Regions from separate parts of the Homo sapiens genome. Here region 2 is linked to region 1. Evidence: promoter capture Hi-C in human tissues and cell types (Jung and others, 2019). All regions are on one chromosome and are shown on one strand. The core of a region is centred on a gene start or on the middle of the fragment in contact, and the rest is flanking DNA. Distances in the headings are between cores, read along the strand shown. Region 1 overlaps CNPY2 (canopy FGF signaling regulator 2). Region 2 holds the start of ERBB3 (erb-b2 receptor tyrosine kinase 3).

Evidence for each region. The method cuts DNA at HindIII sites, captures the fragments that hold promoters and counts their contacts. A contact is called where the count stands out against the background at its distance.
Region 2: the fragment with the promoter of ERBB3 here is called in contact with a fragment that was not itself captured in region 1 in 2 of the 25 tissues and cell types used here (dorsolateral prefrontal cortex and heart right ventricle).

The regions. Positions count from the first base shown.
Region 1 is chr12:56,305,668-56,310,997 of GRCh38, forward strand. CNPY2 (canopy FGF signaling regulator 2) reads right to left here. Exons shown (of 6, transcript NM_014255.7): 5 at 5,291-5,330; 6 at 4,177-4,928. The coding sequence ends at 4,885. Among named protein-coding and RNA genes, the nearest start is that of CNPY2-AS1, 3.1 kb to the right of the region's middle. The HindIII fragment of the contact is 3,127 bases long and covers 2,160-5,286 here.
Region 2 is chr12:56,077,710-56,082,946 of GRCh38, forward strand. It overlaps ERBB3 (erb-b2 receptor tyrosine kinase 3), which reads left to right and starts at 2,456. Exons shown (of 28, transcript NM_001982.4): 1 at 2,456-2,673. The coding sequence starts at 2,592. RefSeq lists enhancers at 239-288, 2,113-3,103. The HindIII fragment of the contact is 14,559 bases long and covers 1-5,237 here.

The DNA of each region.
Region 1 (5,330 bases), core at 2,473-4,972:
GCCTGGTGATGCGCGTCTGTAGTCCCAGCTACTCAGGAGGCTGAGGTGGGAGCATTGCTGGAGCCTGGGAGGTGGAGGTTGCAGTGAGCCATAATCTCACCACTGTACTCCAGCCTGGACAACACAGCAAAACCCTGTCTCAAAAAAAAAAAAAAAAAAAAGAAAAAAAAGATTAAATGAGTGTGTATGTGCTTGTTATACAAGTATTCAGCATATATTATTTCCCTTCCCCATGCTATTTATTCCTATTTATTTATGACAGGGTCTGGCTCTGTCACCCAGGCTGGAGTGCAGTGGCAAGATCTCAGCTCACGGCAACCTCCTGGGCCCAAGCCACCCTCCCACCTCAGCCTCCTGGGTGGCTGGGACTACAGGTGTGCCCTGCCTGGTTAATTTTTGTATTTTTTGTAGAGATGGGGTTTCTCCATGTTGCCCAGACTGGTCTTGAATTTCTGAACTCAAGTGATCCGCTGCCTCAGCCCCCAAAACTGCTGGGATTACAGGCGTGAACCACTGCACCTGGCCCCTGTCCTATATTTAAAGGAATATTGTACCTATGAATGCTTTTTAAGTTAAAAAATCCTATAAAAGTTTTTTTTTTTTTTTTTTCGGCCAGGCAGTGGCTCATGCCTGTAATCCCAGCACTTCGGGAGGCCAAAGTGGGTGGATCATTTCAGATCAGGAGTTCAAGACCAGTCTGGCCAACATGGTGAAACCCCACCTCTATTAAAAATACAAAAATTAGCCGGGCATGGTGGCAGGCACCTGTAGTCCCAGCTACTTGGGAGGCTGAGGCAGGAGAATCACTTGAACCTGGGAGGTGGAGGTTGCAGTGAGTCGAGATCATGCCACTTCACTTTTTTTTTTTTTTTTTTTGAGACAGGGTCTTGCTCTGTTGCCCAGGCTGGAGTGCAGTGGCGAGATCATGACTCACTGCAATCTCGATCTCCCTGGCTCAAGCAGTCCTCCCACCTTAGCCTACTGAGTAGCTAGGACTACAGATGCCTGCCACTATACCCAGCTAATTTTTTTGCATAGACAGGGTCCTGCTATGTTGTCCAGGGTGGTCTCAAACTCCTGGGCTCAAAAGATCCTCCTGCCTCAGCCTCCCAAAGTGTTGGGATTATAGGTGTGAGCCACTGCATCTGGACTAAACCTTTTTTTGAGTCGCACTTTATTGCCCAGGCTGAAGTGCAGTGGCGCAATCTTCACTGTAACCTCTGCCTCCCTAGTAGCTGGGATTATAGGCGCATGCCACTACACCTGGCTAATTTTTGTATTTTTGGTAGAGATGGGTTTTTGGCATGTTGCCCAGGCTTGGTCTCGAACTCCTGGCCTCAATTGATCTGTCCACCTCGGCATCCCCAAGTGCTGGGATTACAGGCATGATCCACTGGGCCCAGCCCTAAAACGTATTTCTAAAGGACTAAATTTTCACATAATAAACTTTCCTGTTATATCTGTACCTCATTTAACACTGTCTTCGGAAATGTTTGTTAAGTTCTAACATTTTACTGATAAACTAAGTTAGAAGGCATCTGAAGCTTGATCAGATTTACAAGGTTAAGAGCATATGCTCTACCAAATACTGGGCTATAATTTATTATAATGAACCTCCAGAGGGTTCAGATAAATTCATGCATTCCTTGTGATATGAATTAAAACATGTGCAAAGCCAGGCATGGTGGTGCTTGCCTGTAATCCTAGAAACTCAGGAGGCCAAGGCAGGAGGATTGCTTGAAGCCAGGAGTTAGAGGCTGCAATGAGTTATGATCATGCCATTTCACTCCAGCCTGGGCAACAGAGCAAGACCCCTGTCTCGCTAAGATAGTAATAATAATAATGATAATAATAAAAAAAATAAGAGGTTTACAAAGTGTATCTTCCTGCTGGGCACGGTGGCTCACGCCTGTAATCCCAACACTTTGGGAGGCTGAGGCAGGCGGGTTACTTGAAGCCAGGAGTTTGAGACCAGCCTGGCCAACATGGTGAAACACTGTCTCTACAAAAAACTCAAAAATTAGCTGGGCATGATGGCACATGCTTGTAATCCCAGCTACTTGGGAGGCTGAGTCAGGAAAATCACTTGAACCAGGAGGTGGAGGTTGCAGTAAGCCGAGATTGCACCACTGCACTTCAGCCTGGGCGACAGAGCGAGACTCTCCCTCAGGAAAAAAAAAACAAAAAACAAAAAAACCCCACAAAGTGTATCCTTAATCAAGCCTAGAAGGTAACATCCACCCTTTCCTATATAGGACATATCCTTTGTGTACCAATGACAAAGTCTCTCCAGCTGGAGAGTTCTTAACAGCTGTACTTTGACAAACCAGAAAGGTGCATCACAAGTAACTTGTTACTGATTAACATTAAATTTATTTATTTAAAACTATGAATAATTTGTTTTCTAAATTAAAACAGTTTTAAGTTTCCAGAAGAGAACTCTCTTTATTGTATTTGAGACAGGGTCTCACTCTGTTGCCTAGGCTAGAGTGCAGTAGTGCAATCACAGCTCAGTGCAGCCTCAGCCTCCTGGGTTCGAGAGATCTTGCCACCTTGGCCTCCAGAGTCGCTGGAACCACAGGTGCACACCATTATGCCGGCTAATTTTTGTATTTTTTGTAGCAATGGGGTCTCACTATATTGCCTAGGCTGGTCTCAAACTCCTGGACTCGAGTGATCATGATCCTTCCACCTTGGCCTCCCAAAGTGTTGGGATTATGGGCACGAGCCACCGCATTTGGCTTGAAGAGTACTCTCATTTATACTTCTGATAAGCTTTCTGATGGAAAAGAAAGGCATTTTTAGGCACGAAGCACGAAATGGACAGCACCTTGGGTATACTTTCAGGGACATGAAAAAATGTAATTATTACTTATATGCATCATAGAAGAAAAAATAAGCTTTATAATAGTTGGTTTGGAAAACTAGAGCGAACACAGCATTTCTTATGGATGATGGGAGAAGATGGAATTAACACCAGGCTGATATTAGTTGACAACAAATATCAGAGTGCTTGCTCTGTGCTCTAGTTAATTTGTCAGATTTCACAGGGATTTTTGGTACAAGAAAGCTTTGTGGAATATATGCATTCTATGCGCCAGGCTTAGTGCAAGGTATTATTAGAGAAAAAAGACTTAAAATAGAAGGTACTCTATAGCTATATTAGATCAGGTCAGCACTTGGGAAAGTTAGCTTATAGACCCAGTTTTGCCATTAAATACAGAACTTCATAAAGTTCTATGGCTTCTCTGGGCCTCAGCTTCTTCATCAATAAAATGGGCAGAGGTGAACCAGACGACCTCTAAGGTTCCTTTAGATTCTAAAATGATGTAATTTTTAAAACCTTTGAAATGTTTATTCAGGTCTTCTCTCCTTGAGGTGTTCTTGGGACCGGAGATATTCCATTTGAAACCCTGAGACAACCATACCTCAAGCTCAGAGTGCTTAAGAATTTTCTGCCAGGTGCGGTGGCTCACACCAGTAATCCCAGCATTTGGGGAGGCCAAGGCGGGCGGATCATGAGGTCAGGAGATCGAGACCATCCTGGCTAACACGGTGAAACCCTGCCTCTACTAAAAATACAAAAAAATTAGCCAGTGCAGGCCGGGCGCGGTGGCTCACGCCTGTAATCCCAGCAGTTTGGGAGGCCAAGGCGGGCGGATCACGAAGTCAGGAGATCGAGACCATCCTGGCTAACATGGTGAAACCCCGTCTCTACTAAAAATACAAAAAATTAGCCGGGCGTGGTGGCGGGTGCCTATAGTCCCAGCTACTTGGGAGGCTGAGGCAGGAGAATGGTGTGAACCCGGGAGGCGAAGCTTGCAGTAAGCCGAGATCGCGCCACTGTACTCCAGCCTGGGCGATAGAGCGAGACTCTGTCTCACAAAAAAAAAAAAAAAAAAATTAGCCGGTGTGGTGGCGGGCGCCTGTAGTCCCAGCTACTCGGGAGGCTGAGTCAGGATAATGGCGTGAACCTGGGAGGCAGAGCTTGTAGTGAGCCGAGATCGCGCCACTGTACTCCAGCCTAGGCGACAGAGCGGGACTCCATCTCAGAAAAAAAAAGAAAAAAAGAATTTCCCAAAAGAAGGTATCCTTTAGGTTTTCATCCCTATGCCCCAGTCTGGAATCTCTACACACAGAATTGTGGACAGACTTATAGTCCAGATTGACAATGGCTAGTGATAGATACACTTTATTGTTGCCACTGGCATCAAATTTAAAAGCTTAGGCTGGCAAGCAAGGCCTCTCATTAAACAACCTTCCTTACCTCGTCTGTCCCTATCCGATAAAGCCCTTACTTTTCAGCTGAGTTGGTCACATCCATTTTCCCCTTCCTGTCTCTGTTCTTGCTGGTCCCTCCATCTGGATGGGCAGGGAAGGAAGAATAATGCATATCCGTTATTTCCTTCAAGACCAAGCCCTGTCTTACTTTATGTTTCAACAGCCATGAACACAAGGGATTTCTAGAATTCTACACTACCATACACTATGTTCCCCTGCTTCCTCATGGAGGTTCCTCTATTCTCCACAATTAGACTCTAAAGACGTGGTATTGAGTGGGCACTGACTGAAAGCTTATCTAGTTTATGAGTGGAGTGGAATCTCAGAAGGTAGAAGAATTAAAGGTTCAGGCCTCTCCTACCTTTATCCTGTATCAATCCCAAAACTCTTCTTTCTCCTCCATTATCTTTCCTGTCTATATAACTCCTTATCTTCAAGCTTAATGTAAGGGCAATTCCAGGCATGAAAAGACAACACAGTTTGTACTTTTGGTTTCATATTTTTTCAGTTAATTTCAGTAAAAACATAATATATAAAAGGCATTGCCACCATTTTCCCCTCCTGGGGGTGATCCATCAAGCCAGTGTGGGCTGCTCCAGTGGTTCATAGCTCATCATGCGATATGTGCAGGGCATGGTCACAAAGATCTGCAAATGGCAAACAATTTAAAGGAATATGCCATTCTCATACTGATATCTGCCAGTATCAAGAAAATTTCCCAGACCAAGCTGACACAAACACACACCAACCACCATTCTGCAGAATATATGCTTATAAATGATAAAACATCCCCACTGTCCTCTCACCTGTATCTCAGGGTCAAGGGGACACAAATTCTGAAAGCTGACAGAAAATGTGGAGGAACACCCCAAGTCCCTAAGCCAAGGGAAATGGAAGACAGCTCTTGACCTAATACCAGAGGTTTCTGGGATGGGGGTGTATGGGTGAGTTAGGGAATGTCAGGTTCCACAGAGCTACTAGAACAGGAGATAAAGTGGGGGCAGCTTACCTGTTCGCTTACTGCAAAGTTTGTCTTTAACATTGTCAGC
Region 2 (5,237 bases), core at 1,206-3,705, 230 kb before region 1:
TGCACCACTGCACTCCAGCCTGGGTGACAGAGGGAGATCCTGTCTCAAAAAAAGGAAAAAAAGCCAGGTGTGGTGGCTCACACCTGTAATCCCAGCACTTTGGGAGGCTGAGGTGGGTGGATCACCTGAGGTCAGGAATTAGAGACTAGTCTGGCCATCACAGTGAAACCCCATCTCTACTAAAAATACAAAAAATTAGCCGGGCTTGGTGGCGCACGCCTTGTAGCCCCAGCTACTTGGAAGCCTGAGGCAGGAGAATCACTTGAACTCAGTAGTGAGCTGAGATCAGGCCACTGCACTCCAGCCTGGGTGACAGAAACAGAACAAGATTCCGTGTCAAAAAAAAAAAAGCAACAGACCAGAAGGCCATGAGGTCAAACAAAACAATGTTTTGTTTTTGTTTTGAGATGGCGTCTCACTCTGTCGCCCAAGCTGGAGTGCAGTGATGCAATCTCAGCTCACTGCAACCTCCACCTCCCGGGTTCAAGCGATTCTCCTGCCTCAGTCTCCTAAGTAGCTGGGATTACAGGTGCCCACCATCATGCCCAGCTAATTTTTGTATTTTTAGTAGAGACGGTGTTTCACTATGTTGACTAGGCTGGTCTCGAACTCCTGACCTCAAGTGATCTGCCCGCCTCGGCCTCCCAAAGTGCTGGGATTACAGGCATGAGCCACCGCGCCCAGCCGAATGTTTTGTTTTTTAAGATGGAAGATATCCCAGCACTTTGGCAGGCTGAAGCAGGTGGATCATTCCAGCTTGGGCAACAAGAGCGAAACTCTGTCTCAAAAAAAAAAAAAAAGAAAAGAAAAAAAAAGAGAGAAAGAAACCCTAGGTAAAAGTCTGAGCCCCACCTCCCAATCACCTGATCACCTCAACCACTGTCACCAGGTGGATGACCTTGGAGAGGTCACACACTTCTAGTTCTGTAAAATGGGGAGTTATATTGCCTAAATCATATAATTTTTATGTTAAGTGACACATTCTCTAAGGCACTAAGTTTGAGGACATACTTTGTAAATGAAATGATATATGGAAATGTTTGTATATGTTAATGGTTTTGTTGTTGCTATTATTATTATGACTACTATACACATGGTCTGGAGAAAGCCAACCTCCCCAAAGCGGAGATTCTCCAGTAGAGAACAGGCCCTCTAGGTTGCATATCAATAGGGAGCATGTTTAAGGAATGTTAGCCGGTAGTCTTTGCTAGGTGTGAGGGGTGAAATTTTTCTTTATCAAGGCTCAACTGTTTTCGAAGTCTTCAGGCTTGAAGTTCTGGAGAAAACAACTAGGCTCTCCGGGCGAGATCCCGAATACCAGTTTAAGGGATTTGAAATGCAAGGCCGTCTGGGACTCCACTGCCACGGATGGGCACCAGGCGGCGCCGGTCGGATCCGTCCCGGGACTAGCAGGGCTTTGGGCAGCAACCCGCAGGGAGCCCGACCGCCTCTGGCCAGGTCCGGGCAGCTGGTGGGGGAGGTTCCAGAGGTCCACGCCATTCGTGGACGCAGTCTCTAGTGTCCTCTCCGCGTCCCACTTCACTGCCCCATCCCCTTTCCTGCGAGAGCCTGGACTTGGAAGGCACCTGGGAGGGTGTAAGCGCCTTGGTGTGTGCCCATCTGGGTCCCCAGAAGAGCGGCGGGAACTGCGGCCGCCCGGACGGTGCGGCCAGACTCCAGTGTGGAAGGGGAGGCAGCTGTTCTCCCAGGCGGCCGTGGGGGGCAGCAGAGGGGACGGCGACAGGTGCGGGAGCCCCTCCCGGGGTAGAAGTGGAAAGGCGGGCTCCGGGGTCTGTTCCCAGGCTGGAAACCACCCCCGCCCCCCATCCAAATCCCCGGGAGAGGCCCGGCCGGCGCCGGGTCTGGAGGAGGAAGCGGCCAGAGACAGTGCAATTTCACGCGGTCTCTGTGGCTCGGGTTCCTGGGCTGGGTGGATGAATTATGGGGTTTCGAGTCTGGGAGAAACTGAGGTGGCCTGGACGTGAGGCAAAAAACACCCTCCCCCTCAAAAACACACAGAGAGAAATATTCACATTCTGAGAGAAAATCCACCAAGTGAACCAACCGGCTAGGGGAGTTGAGTGATTTGGTTAATGGGCGAGGCCAACTTTCAGGGGGCAGGGCTTTGGAGAGCTTTCCACTCCCTCATTCATTACCCTTCCCTGGATCTGGGGGCTTTCGGAATCTCGACCTCCCCTTGGCCTATCTCCTGCAGAAAAATTAGGGTGAGCCCCATCCTCGATCTGCTCCGCCAAGTTGCGGGACCGCGGGGCGTGGCACGCTCGGGGCAGGCGGTCCGAGGCTCCGCAATCCCTACTCCAGCCTCGCGCGGGAGGGGGCGCGGCCGTGACTCACCCCCTTCCCTCTGCGTTCCTCCCTCCCTCTCTCTCTCTCTCTCACACACACACACCCCTCCCCTGCCATCCCTCCCCGGACTCCGGCTCCGGCTCCGATTGCAATTTGCAACCTCCGCTGCCGTCGCCGCAGCAGCCACCAATTCGCCAGCGGTTCAGGTGGCTCTTGCCTCGATGTCCTAGCCTAGGGGCCCCCGGGCCGGACTTGGCTGGGCTCCCTTCACCCTCTGCGGAGTCATGAGGGCGAACGACGCTCTGCAGGTGCTGGGCTTGCTTTTCAGCCTGGCCCGGGGCTCCGAGGTGGGCAACTCTCAGGCAGGTAAGTGGCGCGAGAGCACCGGCGGGCTCGGCACCTGGGAGCCGGAACCCAGTGCGCGCAGCCTCGGAGGGTATGGGCACGGTCTCAGGCGGCGCGGGGTTGTGGGTGCTGCCCCCGGTTTGCCAGGACCACCTGGGAGAGGGGCGGTCAGGCTCGGGTTATCGGCGTGGTCCGGCCGAGGGCGGCATTCCGGGACCCTCACGCCACCCTTCTCCAGAGCGTCGCCGACCCTCTAATTGGTCTCCCCAGAAGAGGCTGAGGCCGAAACAGTAGTTCACACTTCTGAGGGGCCCTGCAGGGAGGGGAGCAGGGAACTTCATTCTGTAAACAGGAGGTGCTTGGAGGTGGGGGCCTTGGCGGGAAGGGTCTCGGTTTGCTCGCCAACCCCCTGCCCCCCACCCGCGCCGATTTCAGCTACCCCTAGTTTCGTTGTTTTGCCGACAGGGCGGAGCTACAGAAGGTTGGAGGGGGTTGTTGTTCTCTGGTGTTGGAAAAACAGGAGCGGCACCTCCTCTTCCGTGAGTGAGCCTGCCCTGGGGAGGTCTGAGATTAACCAGAGGGCCAAGTTCAGGTGACATCAGGCAGGAGGCCCAACAGAGGCTGGCGCCCCCTTTCCTCAGTATAGCAGAGCTTAAGCAACATCTCTTTGTCAAGACCCAGGTCAACACAACTCATATTTATTGAGCATCTACTATACACAAGGCCCTGGGCCAGGAGCTGTAAGGGCAAGGATGTCCAGCCTCTGGTCTTTTCTCTCCCCAACCTGAGGATCAAGAGGGCACCTCTGCTACTTTCTAAGCCTCCTGCCTTGGGGAGTCCTTCCTGGGCTCAGCTTGTGCCTCCCGCCCCCATTTTGCTTATTGTCTGACACTGTCTCTAGGACCCTAGACAGAGCCCCGGATTGCTCTTCTCCAGTCCTCCCCCGACTCCCATGCTATCTGAGCCCACCCCTTTGGGGTGTCTCTGGGACCGTGGACACCTGAGGACTGAAGTTCTGTGGATCTCCTCCCCTCCCCTCAGATCTCAGCTTGGGGTTTGGCACAGCCAGGGCCCCTTCCCCAGTGTGGGAGTGGAAGAAACCACCTGTGCTTCCCTCACAGTTGCTGGGCCTAAATTTAGATCCTGGGATTTTTAGATGTGAACACTCCCAGCTGGTGGAGGGGGGTGGTCTGGGGACTGGCGTGGGAGGGAGCAGTGGAGTGACTGTATAACTGTCCCATCCAGACTCCTGCAATCTTCACCCAGAAACCCAGGAGTACCAGAGTCTGGCCACCCTCCCTGGGGAGGCAGGAGGCAGGCATGGTTGGGTCTCTTTACCCTTTATCTGGGTCCTGCAGCCTCTGGGCATCCGGCCCTGTCTCAGTCCTTCTATAGCCCCTTTGTCCTGGCTGTGATGGGGGTGGGGGATGTTGGAGGGGAGGCCTCTGGTTGAGGAGGGGCTGGAGATTCTGGCTCTATCCCACCCCTAGTGCTCTCTACCAAAGGAGGGCCTGTGACACTGCCCCTCCCTATGCTCCCGGTTCCTGGGTACAGCAGGGATTTTTATGATTCCCTTCCCCTGCCCTGCTCCCCAAGCTGCCTAGCTCCTCCCCAGAGGTGTTGTTTGTGCTCCCTTCCTGCCCAGGCCCTTTGCCCCCTGTTTGTGTAATATGGACTTTACCCTCAGGGTAGCAGGGAACTGGGCTACCTCTAACACTGTAGCCTTCCAAGCACAGACACAAAGTCTGCACAAACACTTATGGGCACGTGGGATAGATGGGGCCACCTGAAATACTTCCTGCAAGGAAACCCAACTATAGATTCCTGAGCCAGCAGGACCAATGTGTACGTGTTCGTGTGTACATTGTGTGTGTATGTGTGTGCCCACACTACTACTTCCCTGTGCAGAAAGCTTGGCTCCTCCCTTATCTGGGGAGAAGTGTTGGCACTATAACTTGGGAAAGGGGGTATCCTGCCAGGAAGGGGATTGGGGTGGGGCTGTTCCAGAAATGACTAACCTTCCTAGTCTCTTTCATTTCAACCCAAGGACCCTGGAGTTCCCAGCTCCTCTGGAACTAGCTCTCTTTGCTGGGACTAGCCAACCTTCATGGGGAGTGATAAGGAGCCCTCCAAGGTCAAGAAGTCAGACTAGGGGTGTATGTTATAGGAGGGATTGGGGCCTCACCAGTCTCCCTCCCTCCATTCCCACTGTTGCCTCCCACTGAGCTACCACCGCCTCAGGGAAGGGTGGCTGGAACAGGTGGTATCTACCCCCTACTCCCCACCCCACACATGGTCTTTCCCTGAACCAGAGGAAAGAGACTGGGGTAGGGCTTCAGAGTCCAGGACTTCCCATAGCCCGTTGTCCACCACATTTGCAAAGAAGAGTGAACTCCCAAGGCTGACATGCCATGTACCTCTAGTCTAGGCTCTCCCCTAGTGTGGGTGAGGATTGCCATGGTGAAAGGCTTTTTCATGAACCTCTTCTAACAATGAAATTGTGTGGAGGCTCAATATGGGGCATCTGCTACTATCTCTCTCCAGGTTCCTCTGTATTTGCTGAAAAATACTCTAGGGCTGGAAAG